5 separate regions of the Homo sapiens genome follow, and all the other regions are linked to region 1. Evidence: promoter capture Hi-C in 16 types of primary human blood cells and fetal thymus (Javierre and others, 2016). All regions are on one chromosome and are shown on one strand. The core of a region is centred on a gene start or on the middle of the fragment in contact, and the rest is flanking DNA. Distances in the headings are between cores, read along the strand shown.

Region 1 (2,807 bases), core at 285-2,784:
TAAAATACTGTGAGAGAAAATGTAAATACCAAGCTTTTGCTTAAGGAGATAACTTCATTAATATAATTCTGCCTATCTATGTGCTTACCTACCTTTCTGCCTAGCTATCATACAAAGTAAATATTTGCAAATTGTTTATGTTCTAAAACTGATCATTCATGTACAGCATAACCAAAAACTTGGCCAGCATTCAGCAGCAATTATAACAGAGGAAAAGCATTCTCTCTGTGGTGTTCAATATCAATTTACTAAGTTGTCCTTGATAGACAGTTCCAAGGTTGCATATGAGTTCAAACCTCAATAGGTTTCCTCCAGGATATATGCTTTAAGTTGGACAGGAACTTGTTAAGCTCCACAAATAACATTGATATAACAAATTTAAGCTTCCTGCTGAATATTAACTGTATACTAAATACTACATTGACACTAATAATAGCTACTATTGAGCATTTATCAGGAATGTTGAAATGATAGAAACTTCACAGATTATTGTAACTCACTTCTGCATTTAAAGCAAGAGGAACAAGTTGTAGAGAAATCAGAGTGATTTATCCAAAGTCAGTTGGTGACAGGTAAGAGATCCTGGCTTTTAATTCAATGCTATTTCTATTGCATCCGCTGGTTTTAAATGGCCTTCCATAATTTGATGGAGTCTGATAAGGCTCTTTGGATTTTTAGAAGGTAATTTCCTGTACCTGGTTTGTATATGTCACTTCATCCTCAATTTTATGTGAACATATTACCATTCATATCACGTTAGAATAAAAGATACTGAAGGGAAGAGTCTGACAAAACAGATAAAATGGCTTTCTTTGTTAAGATCAAACACATTCTGTATAATATATGTATCTACATATGTATATATATCATTATGCATTTAATACAATGTCAGAAGCATAAATCAAATATATTTTTAAATATACCTTGTTTTTCTCTTCCATACATCAAGCATCTACCTTATATTCTGCTGTTAGTTTTTCACTAATTTGTGTCCAGGGAATGTATATTTGCTCAAGAATCAGTCAAAGTAAAACTTTTTTTTTTTCTGGAAAAATTATGTAATATGCACATACATCTACACACAAACACACATATACACAGAGACACATGCAGATGGACTCAAAAGTCAAATGTCTATATAAATATGTATGTTTGTAAACACACATCTATACACACACAAATAATCTATTTTATCTGTGTGATGTTACCTCTATCAACACATATAATTATGAAACTATTTCTATAATTTGTATGTCTAGATGCATAAACAATGCATATTTCCTATATATTTTTTTAAGTACTTCTTTATGTAACAGTTGTTTGTAGATGTGTTTGGGGACAACATCTCTGGTTGGTTTGTGGTTGGTTTATATTTTCATTTAAATCTATACAGTCCACTGCTTACTTTGTAAACCCCATAATTCAAATGTATAGATCATCCAGTATTCAAGATTAATTAGTATCATGGCTCTTTTCATCTCAGAAAACACTATTAAGACAACATTCTAAACATTTGAGGGGAATAATCTTAAAATCATATTATAGGTTTTTTAATTTTTTTGAAAAGTAACTGGCTTCACAAACACCAAGTACAACATGATTTAGACAACTGAGAAACAGGCAAGTATATTTTGAAGTGCTAAAATAAAACATATTTATACAAGTACAAAGCAAAACAATGCTGATAAAAATGTTAAACTTTATGAAAAAAAATCATTTGCAGTTCACATCAAAATAATTTAACATTCTCTATTATTTTAATAGTACAAGCTGCCACAACAGAGAAAGAACAGATACACGCACACAATTTTAAAACCAAATCAGTTATAAGTGCAGAAAAAAGTAAGTACAAGCACTTTTAGCCCACACAAATCTTTTAGGATTGGCACCATCTTTCTAAAACATCTATAATCTATATAGATTTCTAATTACAACACCATCAGCAGCTGCCATTGATTTCTAGAAATACACACAATATACATAGTATATTTGTTCACATTGGGAAGATCAGTGAAATTCAACCAACTATTTTATACATGCCTCATTCTTCAATAGACAGTAGAGACTCTCCCAGGCCTCAGACCCTCTTCAAAGTGAATTCTGACTTGTCTTTATGCTTTCACTGATCTGTATTTTTTCACAGTATAAAATTGTAAATGGTAACTATAGAGATTCTGACAGCTTGAGGGTTATTAATAAGCTGTTGCTAAATGTGAACTCACATAATACCTTTGAAGTCTCCAAAACATGTACATTTTACTGGGAGACTAGCATAGGAAATGCTTTTGTTTTTTGTTATTCTTAAAAAGAGCATTTAATTCCTGGCTTGGAAGTCACAGAACTGCAGCAGAGCTATTATACAATTCATTTACAGTCAGAAATAGCTCCTAGTCTTCCTGATCACTTGCTGGTAACAGCAGTAGTTTGGGAAAGATAGTTACTTTCAAGGATTAGCACGTTTGGGGATTTGCTTTTTTTCCTTGCTTCAGTCAAATCTCTTATAATTTTTCTTTCCATACTCCCTTTCTGTTCCCCATCCCTAGCCCAGAAAGACGGTTCTTCCCAATCCAGATATGTTCTTCTTAGGCTGCCCCCACTCCTTTCCCAAAATGGAAGGATGAGTGGACTGCTTAGATTAGTCAGTATAACTTGGTTAAACCACGTCTTCTTCTTTCCATCCTGGGACATATCTCTCATTTAGGGTCACTTTGCTGAGCCTTAGCATATCCCCTTCCTTTTAGTCATGCTGGTCCCGACTGAATTATCACTGGGCACCAGGAACAGATTGTTTTGAAGGAAATTCAATG
Region 2 (2,700 bases), core at 92-2,591, 340 kb before region 1:
GAAAATAACTGTAACACAAAGCTTAACTAGAGAAGTGCTACAAACAAGGGAAAGAAAAGTTGTATGGGACTCAAGGGAGGAAGAAGTTACTACTGACAGAGAGAACTAGGAAAGTCTCTGTAGAGGAGCTGCCTTTTCAGATAGGTCTTAGACATCAGGTAGGATTTGGATGTGCTTCCAAAGGGAAGGACACATGAACCAGCAGACATGAACCAGCAGGGCAAGCAGGAGCAAAGGCTCAGAGGCAATAAGCATGGAAATGAACCAGGAATAGCAAGGAGTTCAAATGGTTGAAATTTAGACCTCATCATGGAGGGAGGGAGAAAATGATATTAGAAATGCTATTTAAAGCCAAACTGTGGATGACTTTGGGTGTCTCCACTGCTATGCCATTATCTCCTCTTCTCCACTGCACGAACTTCCACAGGGCTGGGTGCCTTCCCAATTTGATCATCATTATAACTCAATGCTGAAGACAGCACCCAAACACCTAGTATTAAAAAATACGTTTTTAATTATTCAAGCTTCCTTGGTAATAAGCCAGGTAATCTTGTGTTCTGGTTCTAATTCTACCACTAACAAGCTCTGTGGGCCTGAGAAACTAATGTCACCTCCCTTCCAGATCAAGCTTGCTCATCCATAAAATGACTGATATGGTTTTGATGAGTACTCAGGGTTTTAATTCTGTAAAATTACCTTTCACGAAGTTATTATTTTATATAATATACGCTTAAATTTTAAAAAAGATATAGTTTTGCCATTTGACATCCAAATGAATGACATTTCACTTCAAATTATGGAGACTGTTAAATGCAAAAACACAGCTTTTAAGAATGGTATTTAAGGACATTTCCCAGTTTTCATGGTTGGAAAAAAAATAGAATGTCTCCTTAAGAAAAGTGGTTGCCATATTTCTCAATTCTAAATTATACTTTTATATATTAATGTTTATAAAGTTGTGAAGTTTTTCAATCATGAACAGAAGTCTATTTTTTATTGAAGAAATGTTTAGATCAATGATATGTCTTAGAATTAAGGCATTGATACAATAGTTGACTGAAAAACTTTATTGAACAAATACTACTTGAGTTCCTACCACATGTCCAAATACTATGTTAGGACCCAGGGATACACTTTGGAGGAAAAAGACATTCCAATGCAATAGTAAACTATTTCTATCTGGAGTAATCATGGAACTTTATGGGAGCAGAAAAAGTGTTTCCCTGAGTCTCATGGTTTCAACAGACATTCTGGAGGAGGTGATATTGATAGAGTGAAAAGGACCCATAGGAGTTATCTATGTTAACAAGAGGAAGGTGTTTTTTTTTAGCTAGAGACAACTGTGTGAGCCACAGCATAAAGGGGAAGGTAGGTATACTGGGGCCACTGTAAGATATCTGGAATGTAAAAATCATAGATGTGAGAGATAAGACTGAATGACAAATGAGTGACAGTTATGATGGTCGTGACTGTCATGCTAAAAAGTTCAGCCTTTAATTCTAAAAATGCTGTGGCTCCAGTGATGGGTCCCAGATGAGAATATCAACTGGAGAACAACACCATGATGAGGGGTATCACCACTGTCGATTACAAACTGATTGGCAGGGAAGCTGGAGGAGGGGATGGGCAGGAGGCAACTGCTGCAACAGTTCCGGTGAGTTGTGAAGAAGATGTGGCTATTGAAAAGATGGATGAGATATTTATTTTATAAGGTAGAAAAGACAAAATTTAATTAGTACTTGAGAGTGGGCAATGAAAGGAAGGAGAGAACAGTAGAAGTTAAAATCCGAATTATTTTCAAAGAGTAATTTAAGATCACGTAACTTCTTAAATTCCTGAACAGCTGAAAAAATGAGTAAAACTCAATTATTAAGAACCCCAGGCTAGAGTCTCAGACTTGACCTTGCCAAGTTGAAGGACATCAGTCTAATTCACCATCCTAGAAGATAAGGATCATCCCTTGCTGGAATAAACCTGATTCCTACCCCAGGAGCAATAGGTCCACTGTATTCTTCTGGGAATATGCATCCCAGAATCTAAGAAAGTAACATAAATAAAGCTTCTCAATGGTTTGAAAGCTTTCAAGGAATCTCCAAAGTGAATCATCAGAAGAGGGAGAGAAAGGATTGTAAGTGTAACTCAAAACATCTATTCTCAAAAATTCACCAGATGAGTGATGGCTTTAGTATGAACCTCAGTGACTGCTTAACACCAAACCACTTTTACTAAGCAACAATTATGTACCAGGTGTCATGTTCTACTTATGCTTGGCCCAGCTTCCTCATCTATGAAACTGGAAGTAAGAAGACCTATTTGTTAGAATTACTGTGGTATTTAAATTGCAAATATTGCTTTGATAAATTGATAAATGTAAGGAATTTTCACTTTCACCGTTCTTAACATTTAATTTGGCATATATGACCTTTCCTAATTTGTCTGCCGCATCCCTCTTAACACCTCCTTCCTCACACATTGTAATCTTCAGCTAGGTCAGATTACTGAAGCCCGCATGATGTCTTCTCATCTCCATGTTATGGCTATGGTAAGTCCCCTGGTTGACTTTCTTTTAGCATGTGATACTTTCCCATCAGATCACTTTTCAATGACTAAATAATTATTTTGAAATAAATATCTTTATGCCACACCAGACTCTAAAAGTCCGTAAGAGCAAAGATCAACCTATTCCGATCACCCCTAAAT
Region 3 (2,767 bases), core at 112-2,611, 350 kb before region 1:
TTATATGCACACACACAAAAATCAAAAGCAAAAATGGTTATTCTTTTAAAATTTTAGTTATGGTTTTTTATGGATTTTCAAATTTTGCCATGAAAGTATTTTTTTTTTCTCCTGTGATACTGAGATTTTTTAAATACAGGCAAAAACAAAAAGAGAGTAGAACAAAAGCCAGGAACCTGACATATCAGATGGCAACATGAGGGAACAATGAGAAGTATATTATCCTCATCACACCATACAGGATCCTTCATCTTCCAGCCCTGCCTCAGCTCCACCTCCTGCCACTTTTCTGCCATCCAGGGGAAACAGCATGGCCAAGCTATGCTGTGTTCTTCACATTTGTGCTTGCTGTCTATTCTCTGTTACCCCACTATTCCGGTATGCCCAATGTAGTGTTTGCCATCTTTTCTTTCCTAGGAGGAAGCACAATTCCTGATGTACAGGTGAACATATTAAATATTGATTGTGTAAATTAACTAACACATGAATAAGGCCTTTACTATAAAACCATACTCACCTAATAAAGTTGTGGTGAGGACTAAATAGGAAAATGCATGCAAAATATGCCTGGCTCATAGTAAGACCTCAAAAGGCAAACATAGTTATCAACTATTACTATTGAAACCTTGTACAAGTTGCTTTCCTCCTCTTGCCACAATGATCTTAAATTGTAGATAATAATTCCTGCCTTACCTACTCATTGCACTGAGATGAGAAAGAGCTTAGAGCAATGTGAAAACCATACATCACTAAACAAACATATTATTATCATTATGATGATGGTGATGATTATGTGCCATTTTCTTTGTGAACCTTGCTTATATTAAGCTTATTATTTAAAGTCACATTACCTTTGCTGATGTTTCAAACCATCCTACGAAACCGTGCTCCTTGCAGAACTGGTCCATCTTGAGGCCATTGTTCATGAGCACATCCTTCCCCTGGTCACATTTGTTGGCCAACAAAACCACTGAAACCGGTTTGCCATTAGGGAGACTTAACTTGGAGTCCAAATCATTTTTCCACTTTGCCACTGCTTCAAATGTGGCTGGCCTGGTGACATCGAAGACAATAAATGCACCCATAGCTTCTCGGTAATAGACCCTCGTCATGTTTCCAAATCTTTCTTGACCTGACACCAAAAAGAAATAAAAATAAAAATGTATTAAAATTGCAAACTGAATCATATTATAACTTCATGAAGCCTCCAAGATGAGCAAGTCAATCAGTAAAGTGCTTCGTCTTTACTGATAATCTTTAAAGAGCGAACTAAATATGCAATCATGTAGCTTGTTCTTGATTTTTGAATTCAGAAGGGAATTCATCCATTTAACAAATATGTACTGAGAAATTTCTGTGTACCATGTAATATTCTAGACCTATGCAAATACAGTATTCCAGTAGCCACATATGGCTATTTAAATTAAATGAACAAAAACTAAACAAAATTTTTAATTCAAGTATTCTGTCACCCTAGCTAGCTACATTTCAAGTGTTCAGTAACTGCATGTCGCTAGTGCCTACTGTATTAGACTATGCCAATAATGAAACATATCCATCAGTATAGAACATTCGATTGGGCAACACTGTTCTAAATATTTGGGATACTCTGATTAAAACATAACCATCCCTGCCACCATGAAGATTATATTTTAATGGGAAGACAGACTCTAAACAATAAACATAATAAATAACAAAATTATGGAGTATGTTTAAAAGGGATCCACAATCTAGTCCAATTAAAGGTTATAATACTAGCTACCATTCATTCATGTTTACTAACCATGAGAAATGTGATTTACATAAGTGATCATTAAGGTGCAATTATTACCCCCATTTTAAAGTGAGAAAATTGAAACTTAGTCTAAGTAACATTCTCAAATCATACAGATAGTAAGCTTAAGAAATCATAATTCAAACCTGAGCTGTTTGAATCTAGGGCTCACAGTCTTTTACCAACATTAAATACTCTCAACCACTAAATTATAGGCTTGTACTCTCTCTTCCGCAGGCTTAGATACCAGGACCAGAGGACCATCCCTTTGAATTTGACTGAACAGATATTTATTGGACATCTATTATATCGATGCCAGTTTCTGGACTCTTGCTCAGAATGTAACAGTAAACTAGATAGTCTCTACCCTTAAATACTCTACAACCTATTGGATAAGAAAAGCTCTCCTACAGCAAAACACTAAATAAGTTTTGTTGTTGTTGTTGTTGTTTAGGATAAGGATTGGTTTCAGAATTAGAATCAGCTGGAATCAATTTTGCTCTGATGCTTAACGTTCTGATTGAATATTGTCAAGTTTCTTAAGCACTCTAAGTTTATTCTTCCTTATCTGCAAATTGGCAATAATAATATGTACTGCAGAGTTTTGCCATGTGGATGAAGTGAATTAATATATGCAAAGCACCCAGCATAGTACCTTATACTTGAGTTTTCCTTCTCTTTTGGCAGCATGTTAAATAGTGTGAAAGACAATATGGCACAAGTTCTGAAATCAGAGTTTCAGATCAGAGTTTGTGACAAAAAAATTACAAGTATTTCAGCTGAATAACAAAAATGAACAAAATCCTACTACTTCTAACTCTGTCTATTAATGGTTGCTGAAGACAGGAGCTAATGAAGACTTGTATTTTCTGAACTCAAAACCCCAGAAGTATGTGACCAGACAAAGCCTTTTTATTCTGATTTGGGAATTTATTTATGTTAAGAGTCTTATAAAGTTATATAAATTAAAATAAAGTTAGTGTGCATTTAACA
Region 4 (2,768 bases), core at 46-2,545, 280 kb before region 1:
CATGTACGTGTATATTTACCAGACTGCGTTGGCATTGATTTCTGACTTTATTCCAGTGTAATCTGAGTAAGTACTTGATATGATTTTGATTTTTTACAATCTGTTAATACTTATTTTTGGCCTAATATTTGGTCTATCTTAGAGAATATTCCATGCGATTGTGAAAATAATGCATATTCTCTATTTATTAGGTAGAATGTTTTATAAATGTCTATTAAGTCAATTTGTTCTGAAGTCCAATTTAAGGCCAATGTTTCTTTGTTAAGTTTCTACCTCAATGATCTGTCTAGTGCTGTTAGTGGGATATTAAAACTCTCTACTGTTATTGCATTGCTGTCTGTCTCTTTCTTTTGGTCTAGTAATATTTGTTTGGTAAATATAGGTGCTCCAATGTTGTATGCATATATACTTAGGATCGTTATATCCTCTTGCTGAATTGATCCCTTTATCATTACATAATGGCCTCCTTCATCTTCTTTCTTTACTGTTTTTGATTTAAAGTCTGCTTTATCTGATATAAGCATAGCTACTCCTACTCACTTTTGGTTGGTTTGTGTAGAATATCTTTTTTCACCCCTTTACTTTCCGTCTAATTCAGTAAGGTGAATTTCTTGTACCATATAGTTTTCATCCCTTTACTTTCAGTCTAATTCAGCAAGGTGAATTTCTTGTACCATATAGTTGGATTGTGGGCTTTTTGTCTATTCTGCCAATCTTTATCTTTTAAGTGCAGCATTTTATTCATTTACATTCAAGGTTAATATTGATATGTGAGGCTTTGTTTCTGGCTTATTATTGATTGATTTCAAGTTGTTTTAAACAATTCTTTTTTTTTCTTTTTGTCTTTGTGGTTTAATGAAATTCTGTGGTATCTTTGACATCTTTCTATTCCTCTTTTGTGTGATTGTTTTATACAAACTGTAAGTTGTATATTGCCATGTGTTTTCATGGTGGTGAATATTAACCTTTCATTTCTTGCTTAAGGACTCTTTGAGCATTTACTATAGGTCTAGTCTAGAGTCTAGTAGTGGCAAGTTTTCTCAGTTCTTTCTTGTCTGAGAATGACTTAAATTATCCTTCATTTATAAAGCTTATTCTGGCAGGATACAAAATCATTGGCTGGAAGTTTTTCTTTCAGTATTTTGAAAGTGCCATCTCATTCTCTTCTGGCCTGTAATACTTTTGCTGAAGAGTCCACAGTTAGTTTGATGGGATTTCCTTTATAGTTGACTTGATATTTTTCTCTTGCTAATTTTAAAACTCTTTATTTCACTTGGACTTTAGACATTCTGAGTATAATATGCCATGGTGAGGTCCTTTGTGCAATGTATTTTCCTTGGGGTTGCTGTGTCCCCTGTATCTAGATGCCTAACTTTCTTGATAGATGAGAAATTTTCATTATTTTCTTAAATATGTTTTCTAAACTTTTTGATCCCTCTTCACTTTTGGCAATACCAATAATTAGTAAATTTGGTCACTTTATCTGGTCCCAGATGTCTGAAAGCTTTGTTCATTCATTTTTTATTCTGTTTCTCTTATTTTTGTCTGACAGGATTATTTTGAAAGTCTTGTCTTCAAGTTCTGAGATGCTTCTTCTTGGTCTAGTCTATTATTGAAACTTTTGGATATATTTTTTATTTCTTTCAATGAATTTTTTAATTCCAGAATTTCTATTCTATTTGTTTTTATGATGTTCATCTCCTTGGTAAATTTCTCATTAATATCCTGGATTGATTTTCTGATTTCTTTGTATTGATTTTCAGGTTTATCTTGCATCTCATTGAGATTCTTTAAGATCAGTATTTTGAATTCTTTATCTGAACTTTTAAAGAGGAATTATTTTTGATTGGGATCTGTTATTGGATAATTTTGGTCCTTTGATGGTATCATATTTCCCTGATTTTTCATGTTTCCTGTGTCCCTCCATTGATTTTGGTGCATCTTGTATAGCAGTCACTTTTTCCAAGTTTTTGAAATTGCTTTCATAGGGGAGAATTTTTTCCTGAGGATGTGTATATGTTGTTGATTCAGTTAAGATACTGTGGCTTTGATTTTGGGTGCTCATGGTAGTGTGATCTTTGTATGAATATTTTGGCAGTACACAGGGCAGTGGTCTCTGTGATTTCCTCAGTGACTAAGGGTACAGCTAATAGTTGAGTTTGTGGTGGAATTAAGCTAGTGACCTGGACACCAACTAAATCAGTCTTCAGGCTCTGGTGGTAGTAGCAGTGGGGTCCTTTCAGGCCCCAGAGCAACTTACACTGGCTCTAGTGTTTGTGAGTCTGGGAGGACTGATTCTTGAGCCTTCACGTGGCTTGCTTAGAAATTAATAGTAAGAGCAGTGGTCCCAGTGTGTGGGTGGGTTCTTAGGACCCTTGGTAGCTAATGTGGTATGGGTGATGGTAGTAGCAATGGTGGTGCAACCCACTGGGACCCAAGCAACGCATGTTGTTGTTGCTGGAAGCTGTGATGGGTTGGGTGGGCTAGTCTCCAGTCCCACAGCCACCTGTAGCAGGGCAGTAAGCATTGTCCTAACTGTGCTTAGGAGAGCTTTGTCTCACTTATCCCTTTCCCAGCTGGGTGGCAGCTGCAACTATGTCACCTCAAACTTGGCCCAAGGTTGGGGCACAGCCCAGTATTAAGTTCTCAGAATGGCACTCTGGGCCTGTGACCAGGGAGTGTAAGGTCCCTTCAGGCAAGAAGCATGGGCAAGAAGCTATGGGAAAAGCAGTTTACTTGAGTCTTGGTCTTACAGCAGCCCGTAGTAG
Region 5 (2,700 bases), core at 82-2,581, 300 kb before region 1:
TAAAATGAAGAAATATTTGTTAAATGGCCCTTTAATTTTTCCATTATTATATTTTATTATGCATCGTTAATTTAATTGGTCCACTAAAATAATATTTTCATAGTTACAAAAAATGTTTCTGTTAAAAAAGAAATTAAAATGATAGTAATAATGGAAAATATACACAGAATAGCCTAGGCAGTACAAGAGAACAAAATTAAGTCCACAAAAAGTAAAGCATAAGACAAGAAAATGCATGTTTGTACTATTGAATTCAATATTGACATTTAAATGTCAAACAGTGACATTTATATAACATTTAATTAATATATTGATTTTAATTAAGTAAGTCCTAGATTTATGTATTTAATTTAGAAATGTGTTTCGGTTTGTTTAGTTCTAAAATAATACATGAGTTTATACCTACTCTTTCTTATTCTTATACATATCTTAGTAACATAACAAATATCAGTTAACACTAGTAATAGATAAATTTTTTTTCATTTTAAGAAAGGTCTATATTTTACTCAAGTTTGAGAAACAATCTTACATAGAAGCTTTTTCTTAATTAAGTGTGTGGCAAGAGGGGTTCCTTTACATTTTTGAAATGCCCAACTTTTGAAGGGAAAAGTACCAGAAGATGTAGGATCCAGGAGAAAGAAGAATGGGGTAAGGAGGATGGAGATATACCATCTAAAAATTTCTCAGTCAATAAAAAAACTCCAGTAATGGAGACACTTCAGAGGTGGCAATGCTTTTTTTTCTCTGCCCTAGACTCTAATGGCCCTAAGGAAGTATTCATATCTGATTAGTGACTATCTTCACTGTATTTAACCATATATATTAATTTCGGTAAACACCATTGCAAAATTGGCCAAAATTAAGGAAGTGACAAATTAGTCCACAAGCCCAAACATAGTTCAATGTAACAAAATTTATTGAGCATGTACTTAGAACAGTTACTATTCTGTGGATATACTAATGAAAATAATATAATGTATTCCCATGAATAATCACTGAGACAGACATGTATATGAATTGTAAAATAATACGACAAAAATATATATTTATTTATATATGTAATTTTTTAATATATCTATAAATTGTTCAGAGGATGAAATGATTAACTTCAGAGATGTAGCAGTGGAGATAGGAGGGTCAAGGAAGCCTTTACAAAGGAAATGATTGGATTCAGTTTTAAATGCTGAAAAAAATTTTCTAACAGAATAGGTAGGGAGATTATTCTAGGCAGAAGGGATGGCACATGCTTTCGGAAAATAAGAGCCAGATTAAAAAGAAAATCTAACTGTACAGGTTGTAAATTTTGTAACAGAATAAGCTACCTAGAAAAGTAAAATATGTTTACTGGGACCAAATTTGTATTTGAATGTACCTAGTTTAATGTATGAAACTTATTTAACTAGAATCATCTTCTTCCTAAAACCAAAGAAGGAAAAATTATATCACAAAGTGTTCTTATATGAACTATGGAGTTAACATTAAGTTTTTACACTTCATCTGGTTACCTTGATTGGTAGTTTGATCACAGTTTGCCTTATATCCTGCAATAAAATTGTGGTGGTTAAATAGGCTCACTGCAATAAGGCAGACATGGGTCTTAAAGCATGCGAGTAGTGAATACAGTTAAGCTAACTCTCAGATAATTTTATCTTTTACCATGTCCTTGAAATTACTCAGCAAGGTTTTAAATTGTCTACATTGAAACTGAGATGAATATGTTTTGATAGACCTCTAGTAAAGAAAAAGAGAGCCATACTAAAATGTCATACCTGGGAAGTACTATATTTTATTAATCAGGTGACAGTGATATTCCTTTAGATCTAATAGCTGGAACAATGAAGCTGAAAATGGCAACATTATGCTAAATTTAAGGACTTATAAGTGATAGTCAAATGTTTGTGGCAGAAGAATTGGGGTATTGAATTCAGATTTCTTAGATGAGTCAACAGGAGTTTCTTGCTCTCTCATTGGGAGTGTCCTCCCCTCCTTCTGTGATTTGTTGTATCATCAAACACTGGTTGCTTTCCCACAGGGGACTCATTCTGTTTTTAGTTAGTTTCAGTCCTCATCTACTACCCACTCCTCCCTCCATTCAACATTCATAGCCACCCTAGCATCATCTGCCTTGAAGCTTTTCGGAATGAATTCCACTGTGCCTTCATTCCTGTTCCTATTAGTCACCTCTCAAAGCTCAGGACCTCCAGGTCATTTGCTGTCTCCTGGACTCTCAACTTCTAATAGGGCTGTATTCTCTCATCTGATCCCATTTCTCACCTAGGCCTCAACTTTTGAAACCCTTCCACTTTGTCCTCAATAACCTATGTCTAGTCCTCTACTTTCTTAATATTGCCTCTGAACAGTCTCTACATCTTCTGGAAACTGACTTTTGCTAAGACCCTTCTTCCCCTATGGATCTCTAACATACCAGTACAATTGTGAGTTCAATATGTAGTTGGTAGTTGAGAGAAAGTAATACTCCAGAAGGAAACTTCCAGAATGATTTCCTTCAACCTGCAGGCAAATGAGCTTCGTTGGCCATGTAATTACTAAAGGAGATGCTATTCAACTTTTAAAATGCATTTTATGCTGCAAGTGGAACAGAAGAGACTACAGAGAAACTTCGAGTTATAATCTCCTTTTTCTTTCCAGTAAGACCATGATTTCAAAAAGAATCTTTGGTATGGTTCAAAGAGCCTAGGT

Evidence for each region. The method cuts DNA at HindIII sites, captures the fragments that hold promoters and counts their contacts. A CHiCAGO score of 5 or more calls a contact.
Region 2: a fragment that was not itself captured here is called in contact with the fragment with the promoter of GRM5-AS1 in region 1 in 7 of 17 cell types (total CD4 T cells, monocytes, total CD8 T cells and 4 more); the score reaches 6.5 in total CD4 T cells.
Region 3: a contact is called between a fragment that was not itself captured here and the fragment with the promoter of GRM5-AS1 in region 1, in 8 of 17 cell types (activated CD4 T cells, monocytes, total CD8 T cells and 5 more). The highest score is 10.5, in activated CD4 T cells.
Region 4: a contact is called between a fragment that was not itself captured here and the fragment with the promoter of GRM5-AS1 in region 1, in 4 of 17 cell types (activated CD4 T cells, monocytes, total CD8 T cells and 1 more). The highest score is 6.0, in activated CD4 T cells.
Region 5: a contact is called between a fragment that was not itself captured here and the fragment with the promoter of GRM5-AS1 in region 1, in 2 of 17 cell types (activated CD4 T cells and M1 macrophages). The highest score is 5.5, in activated CD4 T cells.

Annotation. Positions count from the first base shown.
Region 1 is chr11:88,503,042-88,505,848 of GRCh38, forward strand. GRM5-AS1 (GRM5 antisense RNA 1) reads left to right here and starts at 1,535. Exons shown (of 6, transcript NR_049724.1): 1 at 1,535-2,807. It overlaps GRM5 (glutamate metabotropic receptor 5), which reads right to left. Exons shown (of 10, transcript NM_001143831.3): 10 at 1,601-2,807. The HindIII fragment of the contact is 8,959 bases long and covers 382-2,807 here.
Region 2 is chr11:88,165,889-88,168,588 of GRCh38, forward strand. All of the region lies in intron 1 of RAB38 (RAB38, member RAS oncogene family), which reads right to left. Among named protein-coding and RNA genes, the nearest start is that of RAB38, 8.2 kb to the right of the region's middle. The HindIII fragment of the contact is 1,431 bases long and covers 627-2,057 here.
Region 3 is chr11:88,148,824-88,151,590 of GRCh38, forward strand. It overlaps RAB38 (RAB38, member RAS oncogene family), which reads right to left. Exons shown (of 3, transcript NM_022337.3): 2 at 852-1,132. Among named protein-coding and RNA genes, the nearest start is that of RAB38, 25 kb to the right of the region's middle. The HindIII fragment of the contact is 1,070 bases long and covers 827-1,896 here.
Region 4 is chr11:88,227,892-88,230,659 of GRCh38, forward strand. No RefSeq gene overlaps it. Among named protein-coding and RNA genes, the nearest start is that of MIR3166, 53 kb to the left of the region's middle. The HindIII fragment of the contact is 414 bases long and covers 1,089-1,502 here.
Region 5 is chr11:88,204,868-88,207,567 of GRCh38, forward strand. No RefSeq gene overlaps it. Among named protein-coding and RNA genes, the nearest start is that of MIR3166, 30 kb to the left of the region's middle. The HindIII fragment of the contact is 1,595 bases long and covers 535-2,129 here.